2 separate regions of the Homo sapiens genome follow, and region 1 is linked to region 2. Evidence: promoter capture Hi-C in human tissues and cell types (Jung and others, 2019). All regions are on one chromosome and are shown on one strand. The core of a region is centred on a gene start or on the middle of the fragment in contact, and the rest is flanking DNA. Distances in the headings are between cores, read along the strand shown. Region 1 has its middle 15 kb from the start of KRT5. Region 2 holds the start of KRT82 (keratin 82).

Region 1 (6,810 bases), core at 499-2,998, 130 kb before region 2:
AGAAACACATCAAACCTGCGCCCTGTCTCAGCATTTCCCATGTCACCTCTTTGTACCTCAGGGTCCTCATCTACACGATGGGAATATGACCACACTGTCAACTGCACAATGTTCAGAAAATCACCAAAAGGGATGGAGAAGGGGAAGCACACAGAAAAATACCAGGATCTCCTGCCTGTCAGGAACAAGGATGGCGATGATGAGGGTGACGACGATCCTGCAGGAGCGATGCCTTGCAGGGGTGAGGGGCCTGGCTCTGGGCCCAGCCTCCAGCAGGGCTGCCACACTTAGCAAGTTCTTTAATCTTCTTGAGTCTCTTTTCGCTTCTGTAGAAGTGAGGATAATAATAACAATAACAGTAATAATAATAATAATAACTACTTCTTTGCATCTTTTTGTTTGAGACATAAAATCCCAGGCCCATAGTAAGAGCTCAATAAATGTTAGCTATAGCAATAAATGATTACTATTATTAGATACAATAATACCTACCCTAGAAACTGTGGGTAATTTTTAGGGGTTCACTGGGGACTCTAGTCCTAAATCGATTTCCCAGCAGCGGGAGTACTTGTCTCCTCCTCCTTCTTCTTGTGCCCTAGACCAGTGTATTTTAGACCACGTTTCTGAAATGTTGCCTCCTCCAGGGGACTAATCAGAGCTTCAGTCTCTAACTTCCTTCTCCATCTCACCCCACTGCAGTGGAACTTTCCCCTGTACTTCTCCCTGAACCGAACTCTTGGAGTCTCCTTCTAAGGCCATGCCTTGCTCCAAAGTTCATGATTTACTTTAAACAGGATTGCTACTTCTACCCCCAAGTACCCCCTCCTCGACCTTTGGAAGTCTTGATCAATGTGTCCCCTGCATCCTGGAGGTTCCTGGTGGGCACAGCTTGGGTGGTGTAGTGTTTTTTGTGTGTGGTGTTCATGGCAGAATTGCTGCAGGCTGCACAAGGTGTTTGCGATGATGGCGATTACAAGAAACCTGCAGAGCCGCAGAGCTGTGTCCCCAGTGCTCTGGACACCATTCACTGGCACAGACTCCCCTCTCTGTGATGTAGGCACCCCTTGGTCTTGCTTCAGAGCTATCTTTGATGGGGTTAGAAAAGACTAGCAGACAGGTGGGAGACCTAGTCACCACCTGACATCCTGAGTGCCAGGCCTGTCAGCAGCCAGTACCGAAGGGCAAGAGCAGGCAGGCAGGGCTGGGGCTGAGTGCCAACCTGGGGAATGACATCTCTGTGGCACTGTGGTTGACTATCCAGGGCACGTGTCTACAAACTGGGATGGGAGGCAGGACAGTGGAGTGGAGAATAGACTGAAAAAGATGTCCAAAGTGGAAAAAAGGGAGGAGGGGAAGAGGAGGCGCAGGGACCTCTAGTCCACACCTCTGAGACTCTGCGGATTTGGAAAATGAAGGAAGGGAAGGGACAGGCTGTCAGTGCCACAAAGGACAGGGCCTGGGCAATGGGCTCACAGGGTAGCGAGAGGGGTGGAGACAGTGGTGTGCTGGTAACTAAAGTGTGCTGCTGAGCCTAACAACCAGCTCTCTGAAAAAATGCATAGATGTGTATATATACAAATATATATACATGTAAATGTGTATTTATGTTTATGTTATAAGTTTACTAGAAGTTTTACTGCTATATTAGATATGTAGCATACAGTTTACAAATAATAATAAAATCTACAAGTCTTTTTTTTTTTTTTTTTTTGAGACGGAGGCTCGCTCTGTTGCCCAGGATGGAGTGCAGTGGCACCATCTCGGCTCACTGCAAGCTCCGCCTCCCAGGTTCAAGCCATTCTCCTGCCTCAGCCTCCCAAGTAGCTGGGACTATAGGCGCCCGCCACCACGCCCGGCTAATTTTTTGTATTTTTATTAGAGATGGGGTTTCACCATGTTAGCCAGGATGGTCTCGATCTCCTGACCTCATGATCCACCCACCTCGGCCTCCCAAAGTGCTGGGATTACAGGCGTGAGCCACCGTGCCCAGCCCTACAATACTCTTTATTATAAACTTGATACAGCCAAGTGACCCTCATGGAATGCTTTCAGTTGGCTTTTGACAAACTCTTATGCCCATGGCTGGCCAGTGGCTGCAACCAACAAACCAGCATAGCCCCCACATGAATGTTAGCTCCCATGTTCATCTTCACAGTTAAGATGAACGTGAAATGATGAAGATGAATGTTGGAACTTACTTGCTCCTCAATGATGTGAGTGACTTTTTGGCTGAATCAGATAATGGGTTTTAAATACCGGGATATTATTTTGTATTTTTTGGCTATTCATAATGTTATTATCAATGGGCACAACATACTTTTAATTTTAATCTACGTTATAAACATTTTCCCCATCACTTTATTAAATTTAGACCAGAGCTGTCCAGTAGAAATGCAATGAAAGCCACAGATATTATTTAAAATCTGCTAGTAGCCACATTTAAGGAATAGACTAAATTAATTCTAATATATTTGACATAATATATAGAAAACACTATTCTTTCAATAGATAATCAATATAAACATTTTTGATGATATATTTTACATTCTTTTCTTCCATTCTGAATCTTCAATATCCAGTACATATGACATATCTAAGCTTGGACTAGCCACATTTCAAGTGCTCAGTTAGCCACATGGAACTAGTGGCAGCTGTGTGAGGCTGTGCAGCTCCAGACAATCAACCAAACAATAAACCAAGCTCTGATTTGTAGTGCTTGCCAGTTCGCTTGGGGTAAATTCTCCCACAAAGGTGATTTCAAGCTACCAACATGATGTCACTGATTACAGGCTGGAAAGAGATGTGAACACCATGGTAGGGGATTTCTGCATGTAGATTCAATAAATGTCAACAACCACAAGAACTTTGATAATATATCAAAGTAAAGTATAATAAAATTAGAAAATGATGAGTTTTAAACATTTCTTCCCTTTGTTTTTAATGCAATGTATTTAACTATAATTTTACATAATTTAATTTGAATTATGGCTATGTTTAATAACAGCTCACAACGTTCTTCAAAATTTAACAATCGGCTTTTGCAAACCCTTTCAGTTTGCTCTACCACAACAGTAGTCAGATATAAGAACACAGGGAGGTCTTCAAATGAGACGTGGTTTTTTTGCAACGATCAAAATGGGATTTATGTTTAGTGAAACTTAACAGACACTTATTGAGGTACCATCTGGTACAGGGATGATGCTGGAGGGTTGGCGCAGGACAGGGTGGCTACAGAATGAACACAATGTGATTCTGGCCCTCAGAGGTATTAAGGTTCTAAGGAAGCACAGATGATCACAGTAATAATAATATGTGCAAGTTAAAATGGTGGCCCTGAGGGTTGTGGATCCCAGAGGTGGCAAGGTTAAAGGGCATTTGGGTTCCAGACCTGGCTCTGTCTCTAAGTCACTGCCTCATTTTGCCCTCAGTTTCCCTTCCTGTTAAATGAGGGGGTTGAGCTGGGTGAACCCCCAGGTTTCCGTCCAGCCTCCAAGGTGGGTCTTCCAATGTAGCGACTGAAGAGTGTGGCTTTCTGGATTAAAGGGCATTGGAGCTGGGCTTTAAAACACTGCCTTCTCCAATGTCAGGAACTGTGAAGGTAAAAGGGGCAGGAACATGAAAGAAGCTTTGGGAAGATGAGATCCCTGGGCTGAATGCAAAATAAAGAAGGAAGAGTAAAGGGGGTAAGTACCAGAGTTTTAGGGGTAGGAGTGATGTTAGAGTTTATCTAGAGATCTACTAGGCCAGGGCTTCAGATTACAGATGGGGAACCTGAGGCTTAGAGGCGTTAAATAACTTGCCCCAGGTGACGCAGCCAGAAGGTGGCAGAATCAGGTCCACGTGACTCTATACAGATAAGGATATATGCAATGTGTGCTTTTTATGCCCAAACTCACACCTTCGGGTGGCTATTCCATATAACAACTTATTTCTAAATGTTTGGGTCTAGGATAATCATGGATGAAACCAAAACTAAAATTTTTCTTCTTATATGAAGACGGTTGGGTCCAGGATGCTCAAAAGGATGTCCTGAGAAAATGGCATGGAATATGGGGCAAATTCTATGAAAATGCGTAAGGAAAATGTAAAAACTGATAAAGCTGATAAAGCAATTTGCTTACATGAGCCCCTGAGAAAGGTCGAGGTGTTTGGGTACCTCAGCTTTGCATCTGCTGTCAGGAGGCCCCAGCAGCTTCCTCTTTACATCTGAACGCTTAGCCCAGCTGGCCTGGTGTCAAGCAGAACACAGTCAGCAGGCCGGGAGCCCAGGCAGGCCTATCCCCTCCATGCTCCGAGACAAAGCCTCCACTTCTAAAATGTCTCCAGGCCAGTGGACCAAGAGGTTTGAGTCTCCCACAGACGGACCCAGTAGGCCAGGCTCAGTTGGAGATTTTAATTTTGGACTCGTCAGAGTTCCAGAACTCTGGAATGTGGCAGCATGGAGAGAATTCCCAGCTCCTGGCCTGCAGCCTGCCCCTTTCTCTTCCTACCCCTGGCTTTGCTCCCTTGCCTACACAACCACAATCTGCAGACAGCCTAGAGGTGTGCCCAGCACCCGGCAGTCTGCTCTCCAGAGGACAGGCCTGAGCGTGGGCTGGGAGTCACTGGGGAGGGAATGCTGGGGTTTTAGGTAGCTGAGCGGGTCTAGAAGGGGAGTGTGGACCCCATGAGCATGGCCCTTGGCCCTGCAGACTCCTCACTCTGTGGAACAAGGGCAACTAGAAGGCCCAAGGCAGGGGCCCCTCTTGACCAAGTCTAAGGGGACTTTGGAGACAGCACCCACACTTGGGACACCAACTGGGGGAGAACCAGGTACCCAGGCCAAGCTTCCGGTGTCAAAAGACAGGAGGACGGGATAGGAAAGGAGAGGTGCAGAGCCCGTCAAGGAAATGGGAATGGGAAATAAACACAGAGATAAACCTTGAAGGTGGGAATAGTGATCATCGCTATAGTTAATTGAGGGTTTCCTGTGTGTCAGGCCATGAGCTACGTTCTTTAAGGATATTTCTTATTAAATCCTCAACAATCCTATTAGCAACCCCCCCCCAACCAATTTATATTAATAAGGAAATTTAGGGCCAGAGGGACTATGAAACATGCTTAGGGCCACCAGGGTGAAGTGGCCGGCCATATTCTCTCCTACCTAGGGAGAGAGAAATTTTACTGTCTCCCTCTTTTGTCCCAGATCCAGCACCTGAAGACACAGGTCCAAGTCCTGGAGTAGCAAGGGTCCTTAGGGCTTCCAGAGAGGAGGGGTACTCTGTGTGGGGCCAACAGTAAGGGTCTGGGAGGGAAAAGGATGAAGCTGGAGTCAGCCTTTGGGACTGGGCAGGAACTGCAGAGACGGTCAAAACCAAGCAAGGGGCCCAGTGACCCAGTGACCCAGGGAGAAGCCAAGTGCGTTAGGGTGAGAAGCTTTTCAGGTATTTGTCCCAGGTCTTGCCAGAGGGCGGCAGGAGTGGTTCCCAGCATCTCTCTGTAGGCAGCACCTATCACAGGTGGGGTGGGGTAGGGTGGGGCACCACAGCCTTCTCCCCCTTCCCCAACACACCCAGGCTGAACCTCCCACAGCCCCTGTTGTTTTGACGGCCTGGTCAGAAGCTGCAGTTTGCCACACTCACCCTCTCACCCTCTAAGGACTGCAGTACAACTTTCCAAGTGCTCATTTGTGGTTTCCAGCCCCTCGATGGTGTCATTACAGAGATTCCCCCACGCCACCCTGACTCTGCATCAGGGGTGTGTGTTCATCCAGGCACACAGCTGGACACTCAGAGGTTTAAGGCGGCCCAGGCATGAACCCTGGCCCCACAACCCAGCCCTCTCCTAAGTGTTGCAGGAGAGGTTCCTTGTGTGGTGGGAGAAGAGGCCTGAGATCAGAGAGCAAGGGAAAGGCTTGGCCTTCCAGGCTGGAGAATGAACAGGGACCCAGGAAACAAGAAAGGTCTATCTCTAAAACTACTTACTCAAAGGAGGAGCCCAGAGCTATGTTAGAAGTCGTCTGGGGCCAAGGCTTGAGGAGGGGCAGAGGGGAGGGCAGATGTGGTAAAGCCGAGCTCCCTGGGAAGAAAGGGTATGCTGCTGCAGGCACACAAAATCACTTCAGGTTGCATGGCACAGCCTGTGTTATGGTCATGGCATGATTTTGGTGTAATTAGAAAATATGTAAGTCAGTAGTTAACAGAGTTTCCTTATCAAACAAATATACTAGGTCAATATGTAAGCCAATTAAACAAGACACGTATTAAAGAAAATAACAGGACAAGTGGTTTGTGGATACAGGCAAACTTCTGTTGGTGGTCCCTGAATGACCGTAGCTTGGGAAATATTTGACTCATATAAATGTGAAAGAGGGCTGAAGGGGCACCGCTGGAGAGGCCAGCAATGCCATACTGGGCTTGCGTTAGTGGCAAGGGCTGCAGACACTCCTGAGGGCTGTGAGGAGCTGGGTCAGGAAGCTGCCGGTGTAAGCAGCCTAGGATTTAACCATGTCTTCTCCCTAGGAGTCAGCATCCTTGGAGTTGGAGAAGGGAGACCAAGAAATGTCCACAAACATAGAAATACTTGTCAAAGAGGAAGAGGGTCTGATCCTCTTCTGTGAAACTCCACAGAGCGGAACAACGATGGGGAAGTGGATGTTAGAGGGAGGCAGATTTCAACTCACAATGACGAAGAACACGCTGGCCGTGAGAACCGCCAGCAGCTGTACGGTGGGTCTGGTGCGTATGTGGTGAGCTCCATTTCTCTGGTGCCTCCCGGCAAGCACAGTGCAACTGTGGTGCTCCAGGAAGGGGAGGTGGAAGGGAGACACAG
Region 2 (6,689 bases), core at 2,975-5,474:
CTTCCACAGTGTTTGTGTCCCTGGGTACTTGAGATTAGGGAGTGGTGATGACTCTTAACGAGCATGCTGCCTTCAAGCATCTGTTTAACAAAGCACATCTTGCACCGCCCTTAATCCATTCAACCCTGAGTGGACACAGCACATGTTTCAGAGAGCACAGGGTTGGGGGTAAGGTCACAGATCAACAGGATCCCAAGGCAGAAGAATTTTTCTTAGTACAGAACAAAATGAAAAGTCTCCCATGTCTACCTCTTTCTACACAGACATGGCAACCATCCGATTTCTCAATCTTTTCCCCACCTTTCCCCCCTTTCTATTCCACAAAACCGCCATTGTCATCATGGACCGTTCTCAATGAGCTGTTGAGTACACCTCCCAGACGGGGTGGTGGCCGGGCAGAGGGGCTCCTCACTTCCCAGTAGGGGCGGCCGGGCAGAGGCGCCCCTCACCTCCCGGATGGGGCAGCTGGCCGGGCAGAGGGGCTCCTCTCTTCCCAGTAGGGGCGGCCGGGCAGAGGCGCCCCTCACCTCCCGGATGGGGCGGCTGGCCGGGCGGGGGGCTGACCCCCCCCACCTCCCTCCCGGATGGGGCGGCTGGCCGGGCGGGGGGCTGACCCCCCCACCTCCCTCCCGGACGGGGCGGCTGGCCAGGCAGAGGGGCTCCTCACTTCCCAGTAGGGGCAGCCGGGCAGAGGCGCCCCTCACCTCCCAGACGGGGTGGCTGCCGGGCGGAGACGCTCCTCACTTCCCAGACGGAGTGGCTGCCGGGCAGAGGGGCTCCTCACTTCTCAGACGGGGCGGTTGCCAGGCAGAGGGTCTCCTCACTTCTCAGACGGGGCGGCCAGACAGAGACGCTCCTCACATCCCAGACGGGGCGGCAGGGCAGAGGCGCTCCCCACATCTCAGACGATGGGCGGCCTGGCAGAGACGCTCCTCACTTCCTAGATGGGATGTCGGCCGGGCAGAGACGCTCCTCACTTTCCAGACTGGACAGCCAGGCAGAGAGGCTCCTCACATCCCAGACGATGGGCGGCCAGGCAGAGACACTCCTCACTTCCCAGACGGGGTGGCGGCCGGGCAGAGGCTGCAATCTCGACACTTTGGGAGGCCAAGGCAGGCGGCTGGGAGGTGGAGGTTGTAGCGAGCCGAGATCACGCCACTGCACTCCAGCCTGGGCACCATTGAGCACTGAGTGAACGCGACTCTGCCTGCCATCCCGGCACCTCGGGAGGCCAAGGCTGGTGGATCACTCGCGGTTAGGAGCTGGAGACCAGCCCGGCCAACACAGCGAAACCCCGTCTCCACCAAAAAAATACGAAAACCAGTCAGGCGTGGCGGCGCGTGCCTGCAATCGCAGGCACTCGGCAGGCTGAGGCAGGAGAATCAGGCAGGGAGGTTGCAGTGAGCCGAGATGGCAGCAGTACAGTCCAGCTTTGGCTCGGCATCAGGGGGAGACCGTGGAAAGAGAGGGAGAGGGAGACCATGAGGAGAGGGAGAGGGAGAGGGAGAGGGAGAGGGAGAGGGAGAGGGAGGAGGGAGAGGGAGAGGAGGGAGAGGGAGAGGAGGGAGAGGGAGAGGAGGGAGCCTCCTTCCTTTTAACCTTGCCCTTTTCACCTTTCACTCTCACTTCTTTTTCTACTTACCTTTCCCCACTGCCACCCCACGCACCTCCTCTCTCTCAACCCCCCTTTCTCCTCCTGTCCTATATTTTTCACCCTTCTTCCTCTCCCACTCTTTCCATTTGACAATCTATTAATATTGCCTGCTCTTTCTCTTCTGACCTCCCTTTTTCTATCTCCCTCCCTCGGAACGTCTCTGTTCCGTGTCTTCAGCCATGGCTGACACTGAAGCTCCTTAAGCCAGGACACCACATTCTCTACCCCACAGCAGAGGCCCAGGATAGTGCACTCAGAGGAGAGGTGGCTCTTTCTTTGGTGTTTTTCCTCGCTCTGAGGGGACACATTGCTGAGCCCCAGAAGGACACAGGAGGAGGCTGGCGTGGAATTGGGAGTGAGGTAGGCATGGGATTCTTCTTTGAGGCCTTCAAAGGGTGGTTTCTGTATTTAATTTGAAGAGTCATCAACCCCCAAGACACCTGCCAAAACGCATTCCAAAGGCAGGTAGAGATTGTCTACTGCACTGCCAAAGTGAAGACGGAGTTCACTGCTCCAGAAGAAAATCACACCCTTCTCAACTGCCTGCTCCCTTATGCCCCCTAGTTCCTGAACCCACTTTCATAAAATGCCGCCAAACTGTCTAGGTCTTGACTGAGTCCTGCCCTAGCTCACACTCAGAGGGCAACCCTGGACTCGGGGGGCTCAGGAAACAGGTGCCTCCCTCCCACAATGAATCCAAGGAACCGCCCTGCCCTCTGCTCCTGAGCTCTGGTTCTGGACTCCAGGAGCCCAACATGCTCACTGAGGCCCTCCTCTGGCCTGGACATGGCGGGGAGACTCTGCTGTGTCCACTGCTGCAGTGACCCCTGCCCTCCGGTGCAGCTCACTGTCTCCCTCACCCCCTCTAGTGGGAATCTGCTCTCTGGTGGGGCCTCTGAGTGTCTCCATCAACATTCACACCATCCTGGGCCCCCTCTGTGGACTCAGTCCAGGGAAGAGTGTGGTCTTCTTCCCCTGACACCCTGCAATTGGACCCCCTCACCCAACCTTCTGCCTCCCATTGTGGCCTGTGGTCTCGCCTTGCACCCCTCCTCCTCCACTACTCTGGGGCCCACAGTCAGGACTATGAAAAAGGGGACAGGGAGTGTGAAATGTCACAATGAGACTGAGAATTTCTGAGGCTCAGGAAACCTTTGAGTTCCAGTCTCCTAATCCACAGGTTGGAAGGCTGACGGACAGGGACAACAGAACATTTATGGGCAGCAGATTCCCAATTCCTCACCTGGGCTTCCCTGCTGTGGAGCAGCATGGCAGGGTGAAGTCAAAAGGAACAGGATGGACTCCCAGCTGATCAGCCACAAGCTGTGTGACTTGGGGATGTTGCTCTTAACTGCTGTGCTTCCCATTTTCCTGTCTGTGGCATAGTAACTATCTCATTGTGTGGTCAGAGAATTAAATGAGACCATGGATGTAAAGAGTACGGAGTGGTCCCAACACACAATAAATGCCCAATAAATGTTTATTATTGTTATTATTATTATTATTGGTTTGATTTTGACCTGGTGATAAGTCTCAGTGTGGAAGGGAAAGGCCATTCGGCCATGGCAAAAGTTTCACTGATGAAATTGATGGAAAAGAGGAGGAAAGAGAGTGAGGCGGGGGCTTCAGACATCTCCAAAGAGCTGTGTCTGCGACCTGAGCTGGAAAGAAAACCTGAATCCCACCTCCACCTGAAAATTCCCAAGGGCAACAACTCTCCCCAGAGACATCCTCAGGCCAAAGCTGGCTCTGTTGACCTCAGGGACACTCAGGCTGGGTTGGGCAAAAGGGGAAAGGAACAGCCACATGGAAGCCGAGACCTGATGCTGAAATCATGCCTTCTGGGGGCCCCAGAAGTGTTGAGGAGAGCGTCCCTTCCTCTGCCCTTCTCAAGCACCAGGCCTCTCCTCTTGAGTTCCCTGCAGCCTTTGTGGACTGATGGGCCCTGTAGAAAAGTGTCTATGCCTGGAGTCTGTCTACCTTCAAGACCCTCATGGGACAGTGGGTCACTGAGCCAGAGCTCAGGAGGGTTAAGGTCCGGCCTGTTGTAGGGAGGATTCTCCCACCCCAAAAGCCTTCCTCCTGGGAACTTCCTGACTCACCTAGGAGCCCACAGAGGGCACTTGGGTTGAGGATCTGCAAAAAAGCCTAGGAGCAGCCTTGGGGAAAGAGCCAGAGCATCTTTAAGCATATGGGACTTGCCCTCTAATCCCAGAGAAGCCAGGGTGTATAATTCATGGCACGCCTCCCCTCCTATGAAATGACGTAGTCCCAACTCTCCCTTTCCTTGAGGCTGAGCCACTGGATACATGGAACATATCTGTCTGGTTGGCCCCTTTCATCACCCCCACAATCAAGGAAGGAGGACAAATAGGATTTTTATAGGGCCCACCAGCACTGACCATTGGCCCCTTCTCTTTGCTCTTCGCTACCCTAATTATCCACCTTGCTACTTAGCTCTGCCAATATCCCAAGCTCATAAACCTAGTTTAATGGTGATTTGGGGTTTGACACATCTCAGTCCTCCATCCCCCTACCAGATAAAAGGGGGGAAGCTGAGCCTGACTTGATCATCCTGCCCCGGTTCTTTCCTCCAGGGCCGCATTTCTCTGCCTCTCTCTCCTGCCATGTCGTACCACTCTTTCCAGCCAGGCTCCAGGTGTGGCAGTCAGAGTTTCAGCTCATACTCGGCTGTCATGCCCCGGATGGTCACCCACTATGCAGTGAGCAAGGGGCCATGCCGGCCCGGGGGTGGTAGGGGCCTCCGAGCTCTGGGCTGCCTTGGCTCACGGAGCCTGTGCAACGTGGGCTTTGGGAGGCCCCGGGTAGCCTCCAGGTGTGGAGGTACCCTGCCTGGCTTCGGGTACCGACTGGGAGCCACCTGTGGGCCTTCTGCCTGCATCACCCCTGTCACCATCAATGAGAGCCTGCTGGTCCCACTGGCACTGGAGATAGACCCGACTGTGCAGAGGGTAAAGAGGGATGAGAAGGAGCAGATCAAGTGCCTCAACAACCGTTTCGCATCTTTCATCAACAAGGTAAGGGGGCAGTGGCCCAGGGCCGTGAGAGGACCCACTGCAGATCTGGGGTCTGGTCTTGTTCTGGTCCAAGGGAACCAGGAGGAGACTGACATTGAGGAGGCCTCAGTTTATCCAGTGGCCTCCCTCACATTCCACGACCACCAGCCTTTGAAAGCCAGTTAGATCAGATTCTGCACTAAACATTTCTGCTTCCTTGTCTTTCTTAAAATATATCATCTTTCTCTGAATATTATCTGACAAAATCACCAATCACCAAGGTTGCCTGAGGTCAGACTATAAGAGGAACTTCCAAAGCAATACTGAAAGGAATGACCAGAGAGGCAGAGAAATGCCCTTCCTGATGAGGCTTTAACAGTAGAACCGCCTTCTGTGTGCCTGAGCTGTGTCACAACTCTTGAGCCTGAAGGTGAGGATGGACACTGTGACCTCAGAGTTTCCAATCATTTTAGGCCTGGGATGAGAGGAAAGTGGACAGTCAGAGCTAGAGGCACAGGGTGACGGTCACAAAAGTCTTACATCTGTCATCTCCAGAGCCACTGAAAGGCTGCTAGGAAGGCATGCCTTCAGAAGGTGCTGAACTGAATCTGCACCCACTGCAGGAACAGTGCAGATTCCCACATCTACAGCACAGCACCCACTGCAGGAACAGTGCAGATTCCCACATCTACAGTATAGCACCCACTGCAGGAAGAGCGCAGATTCCCACATCTACAGTACAGCACCCACTGCAGGAAAAGATGTGGCATGCCTTCTGAAGGTGCTGAAGGACTCAACAGCCTCTGGGTCCATCCCACGCCCCAGGGAGGCTCTTGGGGTGAGGATTCATTCCACAGTTTGAGCTGGTGTTTCTGGTGACCGTAAGGTTTAGGGGCAAGAGTCCTGGGCCAGAGGTCAGGAGCCCTGGCCACTGGCATTGACTCTACTCCTACACCCGGAATCCCCGGGCAAGCCATTCACCTCTTGGCCTTTGGACGGTGCTGCCCAGTGAGGAAGGGGAGGAATGACGGTGGGAGATTAGAGGAGGTAATATATGCCAAAGTGCTTCACAGAGGAACTTGTTTAGTCAAACTTACAGTTTTATTTCTAAAGCTTATTAAGTTCTGGCTATAAACTTATTCCAAAAACATGGGCCCGAATTAGCAACAACATCACACCACCTTCTGTTAGGCTGGGAGCCTCCTGTTGATGCAGCCACTGACCAGAAGTAGGGCAATGATACTTCTGTAGTTTTCTTGACAGACAATGCACGATGTGGAAAATTCCAGAGCAAGGGCTGGAGACCACGTTCCCTTAGTCAATGTCCAGCCGGGTGGCCATGGTGAACTTACTCAACTCCTAATCTCAGTTTCCACTTTACGAAAAGGGAGGAGGAGGCCAGCAGCTGTCCACATTACTAGGACCTGGACTTTTTTCAGATACAGCCATGTAGGATGCAGCACAGTAGGTGAAAAGAGCTTAGAGTCCCTTGATCCGTCTTTTCCCCTGAGTGTCCCTAGGCTGTCATAAAGGAAAGCCTCGACCCCCAAGCTTCACATCCTCTGACACTAGTATGAAGTTAACAGAGTCCCTTCCCATACACTGTCCCAGGTAGGAGCTTTGGGAAGCAAAGTGAGGCTTGAAGGGACAGGATGTCTTGGTCAAGGTCACGAGGATAGAGAGAGGCAGGCAGGCAGTGCTGAAACAGGACTTGCCTAGGCCTCTTGGAGAAGTACCATCCACTACAACACGCAACCTCTGAGTGGAAAGTAGGGGTCCACTAGGCTCTCCCAGGCAGGGGAGACACAGACACACATGCCCTCAGATGCCAGTCTATGCAGAGACCCTGATTTTTGCAAATTCTAGTGCACTGGTAGCCATGTGTTGGGAGACAGGGCAGAAACTCATTCCATTGCCCTCTCTAAGTCATGGTCCCCAGGATCTCTGCTGCCTGGTGATATTCCATTCTTGGCTGCAGGTCCGTTTCCTGGAGCAGAAGAACAAGCTGCTGGAGACCA

The links. The method cuts DNA at HindIII sites, captures the fragments that hold promoters and counts their contacts. A contact is called where the count stands out against the background at its distance.
Region 1: a fragment that was not itself captured here is called in contact with the fragment with the promoter of KRT82 in region 2 in 2 of the 25 tissues and cell types used here (aorta and thymus).

What each region holds. Positions count from the first base shown.
Region 1 is chr12:52,531,684-52,538,493 of GRCh38, reverse strand. No RefSeq gene overlaps it. Among named protein-coding and RNA genes, the nearest start is that of KRT5, 15 kb to the right of the region's middle. The HindIII fragment of the contact is 6,747 bases long and covers 1-5,121 here.
Region 2 is chr12:52,403,870-52,410,558 of GRCh38, reverse strand. It overlaps KRT82 (keratin 82), which reads left to right and starts at 4,224. Exons shown (of 9, transcript NM_033033.4): 1 at 4,224-4,692; 2 at 6,650-6,689. The coding sequence starts at 4,282. The HindIII fragment of the contact is 10,212 bases long and covers 1-6,003 here.